Linked DNA regions of Homo sapiens: regions 2 and 3 are each linked to region 1. Evidence: promoter capture Hi-C in human tissues and cell types (Jung and others, 2019). All regions are on one chromosome and are shown on one strand. Each heading gives the region's core, a stretch centred on a gene start or on the middle of the fragment in contact. The rest is flanking DNA. Distances are from core to core; before and after follow the strand shown.

What was found. The method cuts DNA at HindIII sites, captures the fragments that hold promoters and counts their contacts. A contact is called where the count stands out against the background at its distance.
Region 2: a fragment that was not itself captured here is called in contact with the fragment with the promoter of DLX5 in region 1 in 1 of the 25 tissues and cell types used here (mesendoderm cells).
Region 3: a fragment that was not itself captured here is called in contact with the fragment with the promoter of DLX5 in region 1 in 1 of the 25 tissues and cell types used here (spleen).

What each region holds. Positions count from the first base shown.
Region 1 is chr7:97,022,505-97,026,476 of GRCh38, reverse strand. It overlaps DLX5 (distal-less homeobox 5), which reads left to right and starts at 1,646. Exons shown (of 3, transcript NM_005221.6): 1 at 1,646-2,208. The coding sequence starts at 1,854. RefSeq lists enhancers at 1-497, 1,424-2,140. The HindIII fragment of the contact is 6,057 bases long and covers 1-3,101 here.
Region 2 is chr7:96,693,870-96,697,841 of GRCh38, reverse strand. SEM1 (SEM1 26S proteasome subunit) reads left to right here. Exons shown (of 3, transcript NM_006304.2): 2 at 2,951-3,044. Among named protein-coding and RNA genes, the nearest start is that of SEM1, 14 kb to the left of the region's middle. The HindIII fragment of the contact is 4,440 bases long and covers 1-3,972 here.
Region 3 is chr7:96,717,507-96,721,478 of GRCh38, reverse strand. No RefSeq gene overlaps it. Among named protein-coding and RNA genes, the nearest start is that of SEM1, 9.6 kb to the right of the region's middle. The HindIII fragment of the contact is 5,097 bases long and covers 1-3,972 here.

The DNA of each region.
Region 1 (3,972 bases), core at 397-2,896:
GCGACAATAGCTGTGTTTTTCTGGTGCAGTCCAGACCGCAAAGGCAGGGAGTTGGTGCACGCACGGCAGCTCTGCTTTGGAGTTCCTGAGCGGGGCTGTATCTTGCTCTGAGTTCCAGACACCCTACCTCTACCCGTCGGCCTGTTTTAGGCCGAGTGGCTCCACACTCCAAGTAAGGCTAAACTAATACTAGACACAACTAACACAGACGCTTTCTTCTTCGGTAGGAGGGAAAACGGAGGGGAGGCCAGATAACCCTAGATAGCCTGTGGAACTCCCAGATTGCCGGTCTTGGACCCCGTAAAGGAAGATGTAGGAAGGCCCCAAATCAGGATCTAGTCCGCGGAGTTGCCTATTTGAGGGGAGTAACAATGGGGATTGGGAGAGACTTTTATGCTGAATTTCTAAACTCCCAGCTGAATCACGACTAGAACAAGGATAGCACCTCCTGAAGAGCAAAGTTTAGATCTCGTGTATCAACTGAATGATTCTTGAATCCTTTCTTCCCTTGCATACGAGCTAAGTAGGATGTCTTTGCAGCAGGAAATAAAGGGGAGAGGGTACAGAAACCCGGGTCTGGGAAATGGAGAGACTGGGCCACATTCATGGAGCCAGGAGGGGGAAATCAATGAGCATCATCTGACTTTGCAAAGGCTTTGATCCTTGTCTCCTTCCCCACTTCCGAGACTTTCCCATTCTTTCCTGGAGGTATGGCAGGTTATACATGGATCCATTCACCTTTGCGGGAGTCTTTGGCCACTGAACATAGTTAAAGAGCCTTTATTCCAATGTCTTGAAAATAGATGAAAATATTAAACAGAAGTGGAGCTGTTTGGCTCTTTTTGCAAGCCAGCAACGAGGATTTGGGCTTCCTTAAGTTATATGTGTTTAAGACAGTAATTTTTAAAAGTCATTATAAGGACTTTGGGCTGCAGGAACTCTCCCTGCCATTCACCGGCTTAATGGACATTGTGCCTTCTTGGGCATTCCTGTCCAGCCCGCGTCCGGGAGATACTCATCTCCTGCAAAGGAAGTTGCCTCTTTCCCCAAAGAGCAAATTTTCAAAACATGTAAGTTACAACTTGCTTCCCAACACTCCACTAAAAAAAAAAAAAATGCTGTTTCCCTTCCTTCTTGCCTCCATCCTACATCCCCCCGCTCCCCACTCCCTGCACCTTGACTCCCTATTTCAGTATCAGTGTTTAATTCTACACTCGCCTTTGGTGCAGCCCACGGGGGCGGGGTAGTGGGAAGCAAGGAAAGATGGTCGCCCACCTCATTCCCAAAACATGTGCACTTTTGAGGCTTCTGATTGGAACACATTGTCCCCAGACATCACAGAGCCTTGTGCTGTGGCTTCTGCGATGTCTTTGGAATTTACTAAAAACAGATAGACTAAGACCCCTCCCCACTCCACAACAAGCAAAAACACACACAAGCGCGCGGGCGCGCACACACACAAACACACACACCCCCTCAGTACCCCCCACCCCCTTTTTAAGCAATGCTTTGTTGTGCTAAAACTAGTTGGACGAGTTAGGGTGTTACTGTTGCTCCCGAGGCCCTGGCCAATAGAACCAGATCCACCCCGCTGTGCGTAAGCGCGCAATTAAGGATTTAACCAAGGCTGTGCTGCGCCTCAGCCAGCAGTCAGCCGGCCGGAGACAGAGACTTCACGACTCCCAGTCTCCTCCTCGCCGCGGCCGCCGCCTCCTCCTTCTCTCCTCCTCCTCTTCCTCCTCCTCCCTCGCTCCCACAGCCATGTCTGCTTAGACCAGAGCAGCCCCACAGCCAACTAGGGCAGCTGCCGCCGCCACAACAGCAAGGACAGCCGCTGCCGCCGCCCGTGAGCGATGACAGGAGTGTTTGACAGAAGGGTCCCCAGCATCCGATCCGGCGACTTCCAAGCTCCGTTCCAGACGTCCGCAGCTATGCACCATCCGTCTCAGGAATCGCCAACTTTGCCCGAGTCTTCAGCTACCGATTCTGACTACTACAGCCCTACGGGGGGAGCCCCGCACGGCTACTGCTCTCCTACCTCGGCTTCCTATGGCAAAGCTCTCAACCCCTACCAGTATCAGTATCACGGCGTGAACGGCTCCGCCGGGAGCTACCCAGCCAAAGCTTATGCCGACTATAGCTACGCTAGCTCCTACCACCAGTACGGCGGCGCCTACAACCGCGTCCCAAGCGCCACCAACCAGCCAGGTACATGGACAGGGGGAAGGCTGGGCAGATACAGGGCGACTAGGACGCTGGGGGCGCGAGATGGGGTGGTAGATTGGGGGTCACAGCGGTTCACGGCAGTGGGGGCGCACGCGGCAGAAGGGAGTAGGACTCAGACCCTCCAACAAAGAGAGTTTCTCGGGCCAGCATTTTAGGGATTTTTAGTAGGAGAGCCCTGTGGAGGTTCGAACTAGCGTCTCTCCCCTCCGGCACCTTCCAAGGCCCTTCAGTCGCTGAATTCCCAGCTTGCCCGGCCAGGAAGCCGGCTAGGCTGGAAAGGGGATAGGGGTGGAGAGAAGAAAGAATCAAGCAGCTCCTGGCGTTTGCGTAACAAAGAGAAGGTTACTTGGGAATTTTGGTAAGCGTGCTGGGTTGGTGCGAGTGGGAATAGAAGGCTGCCTCAAAAACTCAGTCAGGATTAGTTTGAGAGCCGCCACAAGCTAGCACGGTGCGGGTGCCCTGAGCACGCTGGGTGGGGGTGGGGGGGTTAAGGAGTTGTAGCCAGCCAGAGAAGAGCGCGCCGAGAGTTTTGCGGTTTATCCAGGCATTTCCAAAAACAAAAAGCCATTTAAAGGTGGAGGAGGGTTGCTGAGGGGTCACGTTGTAGGATAGATTTTTTTTTCTGTCTCCATAGGCGCCCACAATTTGTCTTTCCGTCCTCCTTTTTCGTCCGCTTTGAAACTTACTTAGAGAGTTTAAGAGGGTTAGTGAGCTTGGGCGGTAAGAGAAAGGCATGAGGCTCGGCGGAGAGGTTTTATTGGTAAGGTTTGATCTCTTCCCACCAGCACATTAATAATCCTGCTAATATTAGCATCCCCTACTCTGGCAGAATTGAGACCACAGCCCTCATCCTCCACACTTCTCCCTGGAACTTGACACACACACACACACACACACACACACACACACACACCCTGGAGAGGTTCTCCGTCAGTTCCAGAGGGGTGGTAGTTTTGAGGAAGGGGAGTTGTAGCCCCAGGGCAGGTTTGTACAACACGCGTTTGGCAATCCCTCCCCCTCCCGCCCAAACCCATACTCATGACAGTGAGAATCTCATCCTGACCTGCCGCCCCTTTCCTACGAAAACACCCCACCACCGGTTCCTTCTCAGTGTGTGACTCTTGCTGAACTTTAAAAGAGAGCCCCGGGTTGAGGTGTCTACGTTTCTTTCACTCTCTCTGTATTCCGTGCATAAGTGGAAGATTTCTTTTTTTTTTTTTTTTTTTTGCCAAGAACATATTAAGTCTATTTGTAAAAGAAACCAGACACATCTGTGCCCTCGCAGATCTGCAGCGAGATTATGGGGGTTGCATAATCGACCCTCTGTCTGCGGCGGCCCCGACCGCTTGCTGCTGAAGTGAAGGAGCAGTTTGCTTGTGGGTCTTTGAACTTTGGAGACCTCGGTTAGCGTCTTCCCTGCCCAAGAGTCTGGCTTCTGCGGGCGCCCGAACAGACGCCGACAGAAGTAGGGTCACGGCCCAGGGCCACCTCCTTGAAGCCTGGGGAGGGGCTGGTGTTCTTGAAGCCTGGGGAGGGGCGGAAACGCGGAGGAGCACAGGGTGGGCGTAAAAACAAGTCCGGGAGAAGAAGCAACGACCGCAAGAGCTGAATCCCAGATGCCAAGGAGAAAGCAGTGTTGTAGGAAGCGCTTTGCACAAACTATCTGAATGAACAGAGTAGGAATTAATCAGAGGCTATCCCGCTTTTCCATATTTGGGGTAGGTGCATATTTATCGCGGTCCTGAA
Region 2 (3,972 bases), core at 710-3,209, 330 kb after region 1:
GGAACACTTGTAAATTTATCTCAGAATCACTGGATATGGTGTGGCTTCATTATCATACTCATGAGTATAGTGATGCTGTTTGTAAGTATTGCTCTTCTCTTTTACACACACCTAAGATGGTGAATGTTCAATTTAGTATTTTTCTTTTCATGTAATGTTCTGTATATACTTGCATGTTTTGTATTTGAAGAAACTTGGTTGGAGATTAGGTTGTTTATGTTCAGAATACCTTTATTTTTATGGAATAAGAATTCGATACTCTTGAAAATTGGTGTAGAATAGAACATTTGCAACCCTATTTAGTATGAGTGGGATTTCCTTTTTACTTTTCTCAAAAATGCTATATTTCATGCCTTTCAGAAATTTGGAAATGTATGTTGCAGAGTAGGGGAAAGTAAGTATTAAAAGAATTTTCTAAGTTGAAAGAAGATTCTTTTTGTACTTAAATGTCAAGGTGATACTTAGGTGAAGTATGTCTTAGATCTTGGATAGCTCAGATTTTTTAAATTTAAAGCTAGTCACAGATGTAATTCTCAACTAGCCAAAGTGAAGAAAGCCCAATTTGGGACAACGTCTAAAATAAGAATTGCTAGAAACTTATGTATTAGGCATCTGTTACTGGTTATTTCCAATTCTGACTTTTTAAAATGTAGGGTTTTTTTTTTTTTTTAAACCAGTACACATCTGGAGGCATACACATTGAAGCAAATACAGCTGTGGTTATTTACATGATTAATCACAATTCTGGCAATGCATTTAGTGTTTAAGGTAAAGTGTATGCTTTATAAGGCCATCTACATATTGAAGGATGGCATTAGACATGAGGTATATCAGATATCATGGGTATCATTGTTTGGTTATATTTTGTCCTTTTCAAAACTATTTCTGGAGTTAACCCTTTAAAACTGAGTGATTAAAATTGCTTGGTTGTCAGTGTAGTGTTAGAGTTGAAAATTAAAACACAATTCAGAGATCCAAGAAGATGTCAGCTAAACCCAGAGATTACAATAGTTACAGCTTTTTCATGTTATACATTGAGTAGAGTTTGTATGTATTGTAACTTACATATATTGTAACATGTATGTATAGTATAGAGAATTTGTAAGTGTTGGACATACTATTTTGGGGCATTATACCCTATCACATAAGCTTTTTATGTAATATAGTTAAGTACATAATCCAGGTTAATACACTGTTTAAAATATCCATCCAAAATAGATTCTGGTTTGTCAGTGTTAGCACTATTTTTCTTAACAGTGCTCATATTAATTTTAACTGCTTAATAAGTTGTAATAGAAAGGTTATTTCTCAGATTCCTCATCTATGATAATTGGAAGGGTGGTATGCTATTACGTAGACATTAGTGCTTCTTACTGCTTAAGATAATGGTATTAAGGCTACAAAGTTTATCTAGATTTATCAGATAATTAACGAAGAATTTGGCCAGCTCTTTCGTCTTTGTTTACTCAGTAGTGTCATAACTATGAAGTACTGTATAGTAATACGAAAGAACTATAGAGGTATTGTTATGAATCTTTTTTATATGTTCTACCTAAAATGTTGCTCACAGTATTCTTTTTCCCCCTCTTCATGAGCCAGTTCCTTTTTCCTGGGACTTTATCTCTACTTTTTCCTTTCCTTTCCCAGCCATTAAAATAGGGTGAGATGGTTATTAGACGAGGGAGAGATGCTTTATCTTTGTTGTAAATGATCATCAGAGTTTAACTTTATAAACTAAAAAAATTGTACCATTCTTAAATATTTTTCCCCTCTCTAAGTTAAAAGAAGTAAAGTCAACTTGAAGACATCACTTAATAACTATTGAAATAACATTTTGAATCAAATCATAATTAGATGAAAAATTTTGTTTCTTAAAAGATAGTTGCTTTAAAAGATAAGGCTCTACAGTATTTTTCAAAGACTTACAAGGTTAGCAGAAAAGTGTAAAATATTATTTTATATTTCTGGCTTGAATCTTTTGACACATGATTATTTCCTTTTTAGGGACCAATGCAGATGGAAGCGACCTACTTAACAGTTTAGGAAGCTGGTTATTTGGAAGTGGTTCAAGCTGAGTAGAATCTGCTTGTTGTCTTAGAACCTTGAAACAGTTCTGTTGTGATTTTGAGTTATGTCACCCCCTTTACTCAAGAACATAGTATCTAGTCTTTATTTAAATTATTTTTTTGTAACATAAAACTCCATTAGACATCTTTATAAAGACTCCTTAAAATAACTATCAAATAGATAATTTCTATTTCCAGGCTCAACCCACATAGCATATTTAAAGCTTGAGATTTGAGGTTAGAGAATAGTGGTAATACGTACGTACTTTCTCACCATTCTAAACAAAAGCTGAAATCTCAATCTAAACCTCCCCTCTACCACTACCAAAGGGAGGAAGAAAATCTAGAAAACTAAAAACTACAATATTCTTCTTTATGCATATTTATGTTTATTCTTCCTTTAAAAATATAAATTTTGTATCAGTTGTATTAGGCAGATACTAGTGGTGGCTTACAGTTTGGTCTACTTTTAAATATTTGTATATAAGTTATCCTTACGTTTTGCAGTTTTGAATTTCACACTGGTATCTTCCTGCCATTCAACTTGCTTTAGGGTTGTTGGTGTTGTGTTTTGAAAGATTGTGAAGTCGACCTTCTAAAAATGAGTTCAAAGAAAAATCAGTAAAGTAAATATCCTCCTGAAATTGTAAGTTTCTTGGCAAGTAGAATTTTTTGTATTAACTTCTGTTTTAGGTTATCTGCAAACTCAAGAATTGAGAGAACTAGACAGCATAAGCTCAGATTTAAGGAAGATACCATTTTTCATAGATATGGTTTTAGCTGTTTTTGAATTGTGAGTGTTCAGTAGCAAGCTTTTCAAAGTTTTTGTAATTGTGGAAATAATGTATGAGAAATATTTAGACAGCATCTGTTTCTATTTTTAGACTGGGCTGGCTTAGATGAAGATGAAGATGCACATGTCTGGGAGGATAATTGGGATGATGACAATGTAGAGGATGACTTCTCTAATCAGTTACGGTAAGTTTTAAGCCAGATTTTTATTGTAGTTCAGTATTAATTATAAGCATGGAATATGTAATTTACATAGATGATTAACCTCTTAAAAGCTACTTAATCTTTGAAATAGGTTTTTGAACTGTGTAAAGTAAGACATATTGTCTTCATCTCCTGTGATTCTAAACATGAACACTTTGTGTAATTGCATACAACTTTTATTCTTTCTGGTCTTTTTACAAAGGTAGTAAAATAGAAGCATATTTGCTATTTCTTATCCTTAGGAATTTAATTCTGTCAATGTTAATTTTCTACCAATATCAAATAACTCAGCAGAAATTAGAATCATAGAGTGCTGGGACCTAATAGATTGGTGATTCTCAAACTGGAATGGAGATTGGGGTTGTGAGAATGTACTGTGTCATATTCATGTATAAATCTACCTGATTTCATTTATTTATTGAGGTAAAATTCATGTAACATAAAATTAAGCATTTGAAAGTGTACAGTTCAGTGGCTTCTAGTACATCCTCAATATTGTGCAACCATCATCTCTATTTAGTTCCAGTATTTTCAGCATCCCAAAAGGAAACACAGTACTTGTTAAGCAGTCATTCCACGTTCTTTCTTGCCCTAATCCCTGGCCGCTGCTGATCTGCTTTCTATCTCTAAGTATTTGCCTGTTTTGGAAGCTTCATATAAATGAAATCATACAATATTGTGACCTTGCGTGCGTACCTTTTTTCACTTAGCATAATGTTTTCAAGGTTCATTCATGTTGTACCATGCATCAGTACTTCATTCCTTTTTATGGCTGAATAATATTCATATACATGTTCCATATTGTATATTCCAATTTATAATAATACTATATGGATATGCCACGTTTTATACATTCATCAGTTGATGGACATTCAGACTGTTTCCACCTTTTAGCTATTGTGGATAGTGC
Region 3 (3,972 bases), core at 1,069-3,568, 310 kb after region 1:
GCCCGCCATATTCCTTAGCCTGCTATCTACTCCCCTTAGCACTTCCCACCTACTGAAGATATGGCATACCGTGTTCTTTACTGTTCCTCACACTAGAACGTAAACTCCACAAGGGTAGATCTCTTCAGTGTTTGGTTCACTGAGGTACCCTACCCCAGAATAGTAGCTGGCAGATAGTAGGTACTCCATAATAACTCCTTGAAGAATGAATACAGGAATTAGTTCACTCATAGATCAAGCTGTTTAATATATCACTTTTCCCTTTCAGTTTTAGTCTGCTCTAATATTAATATCTGCTGGGAGGTTTTGCGTGTCTGAGAAGTTGAACTCTCCCAACCTGTTGGTTGGGCTTACTCAGTGAAGGATCTAGTCTCTGGAATTTATTCTTCTGGGCAGGCTGCCAGAAACTGAATTTGTCGTCTTTGGGGTATGATGCAAGATTTAGGGTTCTTTGTTATTCTGAGGGGTGTGTTTCAATTTTGGCTGACTTTATTGTTTTGTCTGGGAATTTATTCCTGTTTTGAGTTTTATTTGTCTGGGTTGATCAAGCAATTTAGCAACTATTCTTCACAGAGCTATGGTATACTAGAAATTAGAGCTGAAAAACACCTCATGGTTGATCCAGACCATCCCCCTGCCATTAAGTCTTCTTGCTCACCACAATACACTGTCCATGGCTTTGTTCAATGAAGTTTTAAATGTCCTTAGAGATTCTTTTGGGCACCCACTCAACTAACCTAATACTCCTGAAAATTAACAAGAATCCCCAATGTTTTGTCTAAACTTTCCCTTTCTTATTTTCATTTTATTTCTCCTATTTACAGTCCAAGGTGAACCCTTTTTCTTTTGGAATTTTATACCTTTCAGAGAGTTGTGGACTTACATTTCTGCTCTATTAGTTCTTTAACCAAACTATGTGTTCCTACCTTAATCTTTCTTCATTCTCTTTGTTTAATTTTGGTTTTGGTTATTGAATTCCTTCCAACTCATCACCTTGGTTTGCAGTATGTATAGTTTCACTGTTCACCCATTGAACGACTATCACAATGCTTTTCCATCAGAAACCTTAAGACAAAGCACTGACATCTGCCATATATAATTACAAATATATCCAATTTGATGCCATAATCAACCTAGGGTGTTTTCATTTTACTCATCAGAATATTAAATAAGTTCTGTGCAATGCTGTTTACTTAACTTGATTTTAAATTCTGATGTTAATTGTGTAATATCAGACATCTCACTTAAGCCCTTTGTACTTTTGTTTTTATATCTGCAAAAGGAGAGCACAACATCAGCTTCAGCCTCCTTTGCTGTAATCTTATGAATATAAATATGCTATTCTAGGGCTAGAAAGAGATTTTTCAGAGAGAAAAACACCTCACTTCCCAGCTTTCAGACAGAATCACACAGGATAAATTATTCTCAATATATGAAGTTCAAATGACACTCTTTTCTGCTTACAGTAATTTATGCTAAATCAATCCATCTCCATTTGTAGTAAAGGGCAAATTTTTAAAATTCAAAAATGCCATGGGCTGATTTTTATAAAATACGAAATCACAGGGTTGGATGAAGTGGCAGTGTCAAACTGCTCTAAGAGTTTCTACATGTTTATGCTCACTTTCTATAGTTGTCTTTTATAGGCGCTGGTCCAGGGACCCCACTTTGAGTAGCTCTGTGCTAGACAATTATATGCCTCACCTTCAGATTCAGATATAGGCTCAGAGGCCTGACAGATACTTTTCAAGATAACTCTTTCTCTTCTAATGATTAACATTAGACTTGATTTTACTTTTCAATTTTTGTACTTCAATTCAAAATCAACTTTAAAAAAATAGAATAGCAAATCAATTAATCATTCCTCTCAAAACATTTGATTACATATTTCTCATTTATTTATCGTCACCTTTTTTCAAAGTGTGGCAATCCTTAATTCATATCATAAAATCAAATCTGAATGAAAAATACTTTTAAGAAAGAAGAAAAAATTAATTCCATGGAGCTTACACCAGACCCCTGAGTTACAGAATGATCCCTTAGTCACAGCGATGCTAGCAGCTCCACTTCTCAAACTGACACTAGTCTCTGGCAGCCTACCGTCAGGGATAGGCTGACAGCAAGCAAACACATTCCAATCAAAAGGAAGGCAAAATCACCCAGTGCTAATTCTACCCCACCTGGCAGTCTGCCACCAACCTTTACTCTTCGGATTTAAGACATAGATCGTATATCAGAAATAACTGGAGTAGCTATTACATAAGTTGGTTATGGGATGCATATGCTTTCAGCTAGCATCTTTTATAGTTTGGGTACAAGAAAAATTTTGAGTTTTAGCACTCTTTTCTGGAATAGGCTTCTCTTATTTTTAGTGGGTTTTAATTATGTTGAGAAGGAATTAAATAATGATATATTGAAATTTCATTTTTCCAGGGAATTAAAAAAAAATAAAATTAATTGGAAAACATGAAATGTGAGGAAATATTAAATACAGTTTTAAACTGAACAAACGTAATCCATAAGTTACACATTGGGCTTTTTATGATCTAAAAATTTCTTCCAAGAAAAAGAAAAATTGAAATTCAAAGACTTATGAGCTTGTTTCAAAAAATAGTAAAAATAAGTTCCAACTGGTATAAGAACATGGATAAAGTACCAACTCATGGTCAAGGTACAACATGATACCAGGGCAAATAATAGCACAGGATGAGTGAGGTATTAGCAGAGAAGAAACTTTAAATGCAGAACATTTTATACTACTTTAAGGGATTTTATACAACTAAGAAAACATATATATATATATACACACACACACATATGTATAAATAGCAGAGAAAGTGTATTAAAACAATATATTTCTGATGAAGTTCTTCTTTACACAATTTTCTAAGAGCAAGCACATGGCCAATGTGGATTAATCATTAATGAATTTAATAAAGTGAACAGATTATTAGCTCCTAAAGCTAGTTATTTTGTTTTTCAAATGTTTCAAATGTGCCAGATGTTTCATAAAAATAGTTTTTATTATTTAAAATGATTTATGAGGCTAGAATGCCCAACTTCTATTTCTGTGTTAAAATCTAAATGTTAAAAACCGTTAACAGACAAACAGAATTTACAGTTCAGTTAGCAGTCACTGAATGTGAAAAGAGTTCTTAAAATGCTCCTCTTCAGAGCCATTCTCGTTCCCATAGAAACCAATGTGAGATCCTGGAAAACAAGGTAAGTTCTAAAATAATCACCATTATAAATACCCATTATATAAATGTAAATACAGGCAATTGAAATGATTTAGATGATTTTGAAATTGCATATCATTTCCCAAACCATAATGATTCCTTCAGAGTGGTTCCTGTCTGTCATATAAATACAGCATTTACAAAATTTTAAAAATTCTTATGATTTACCTGTGAGACCATAATCGCCTTTTCAAACAAGTCTTGGGCATGCAAATACCGATTTTTGAACAGGTAGTTTGGTCCAAAATAGGGTCTTTTTGGGCTGGGCTCTTATGTTGTGGTAGATTAAGTACTTCTCATTATTAGCATTTACATTTTCAATAACTGTATCTTTATTCATTAGTAATTGTTCTACAATGAGATCTAAATATTTCAGGGAGCTTACAATGATAATTTTTCATATTTTCATTTGTCCAGGCATTTTGTTATGACAAAAGAGCCAAAAAAGCTCCGTCTATTTGGGATTGTAATTCTTCCCAATGTCCAGAATCAATCACTGGGTACAAAGTACTCATAATACTAATAAAGATGTGAGTGTGAGTTGTTCCCAGGTATATATACACCTTCCAAGAAGAGCTAAGCTCCTCCCCCATAAACCAAGCCATTAAACATATCACACACAAAAATCAACTCAAAGTGGATTAAAGGCTTAAATATAAGACCGGACACTGTAAAACTCCTAAAAGAAAACAGGAGGAAAGCTTCCTCATATTGGTCTAAAAACTATTTTTTG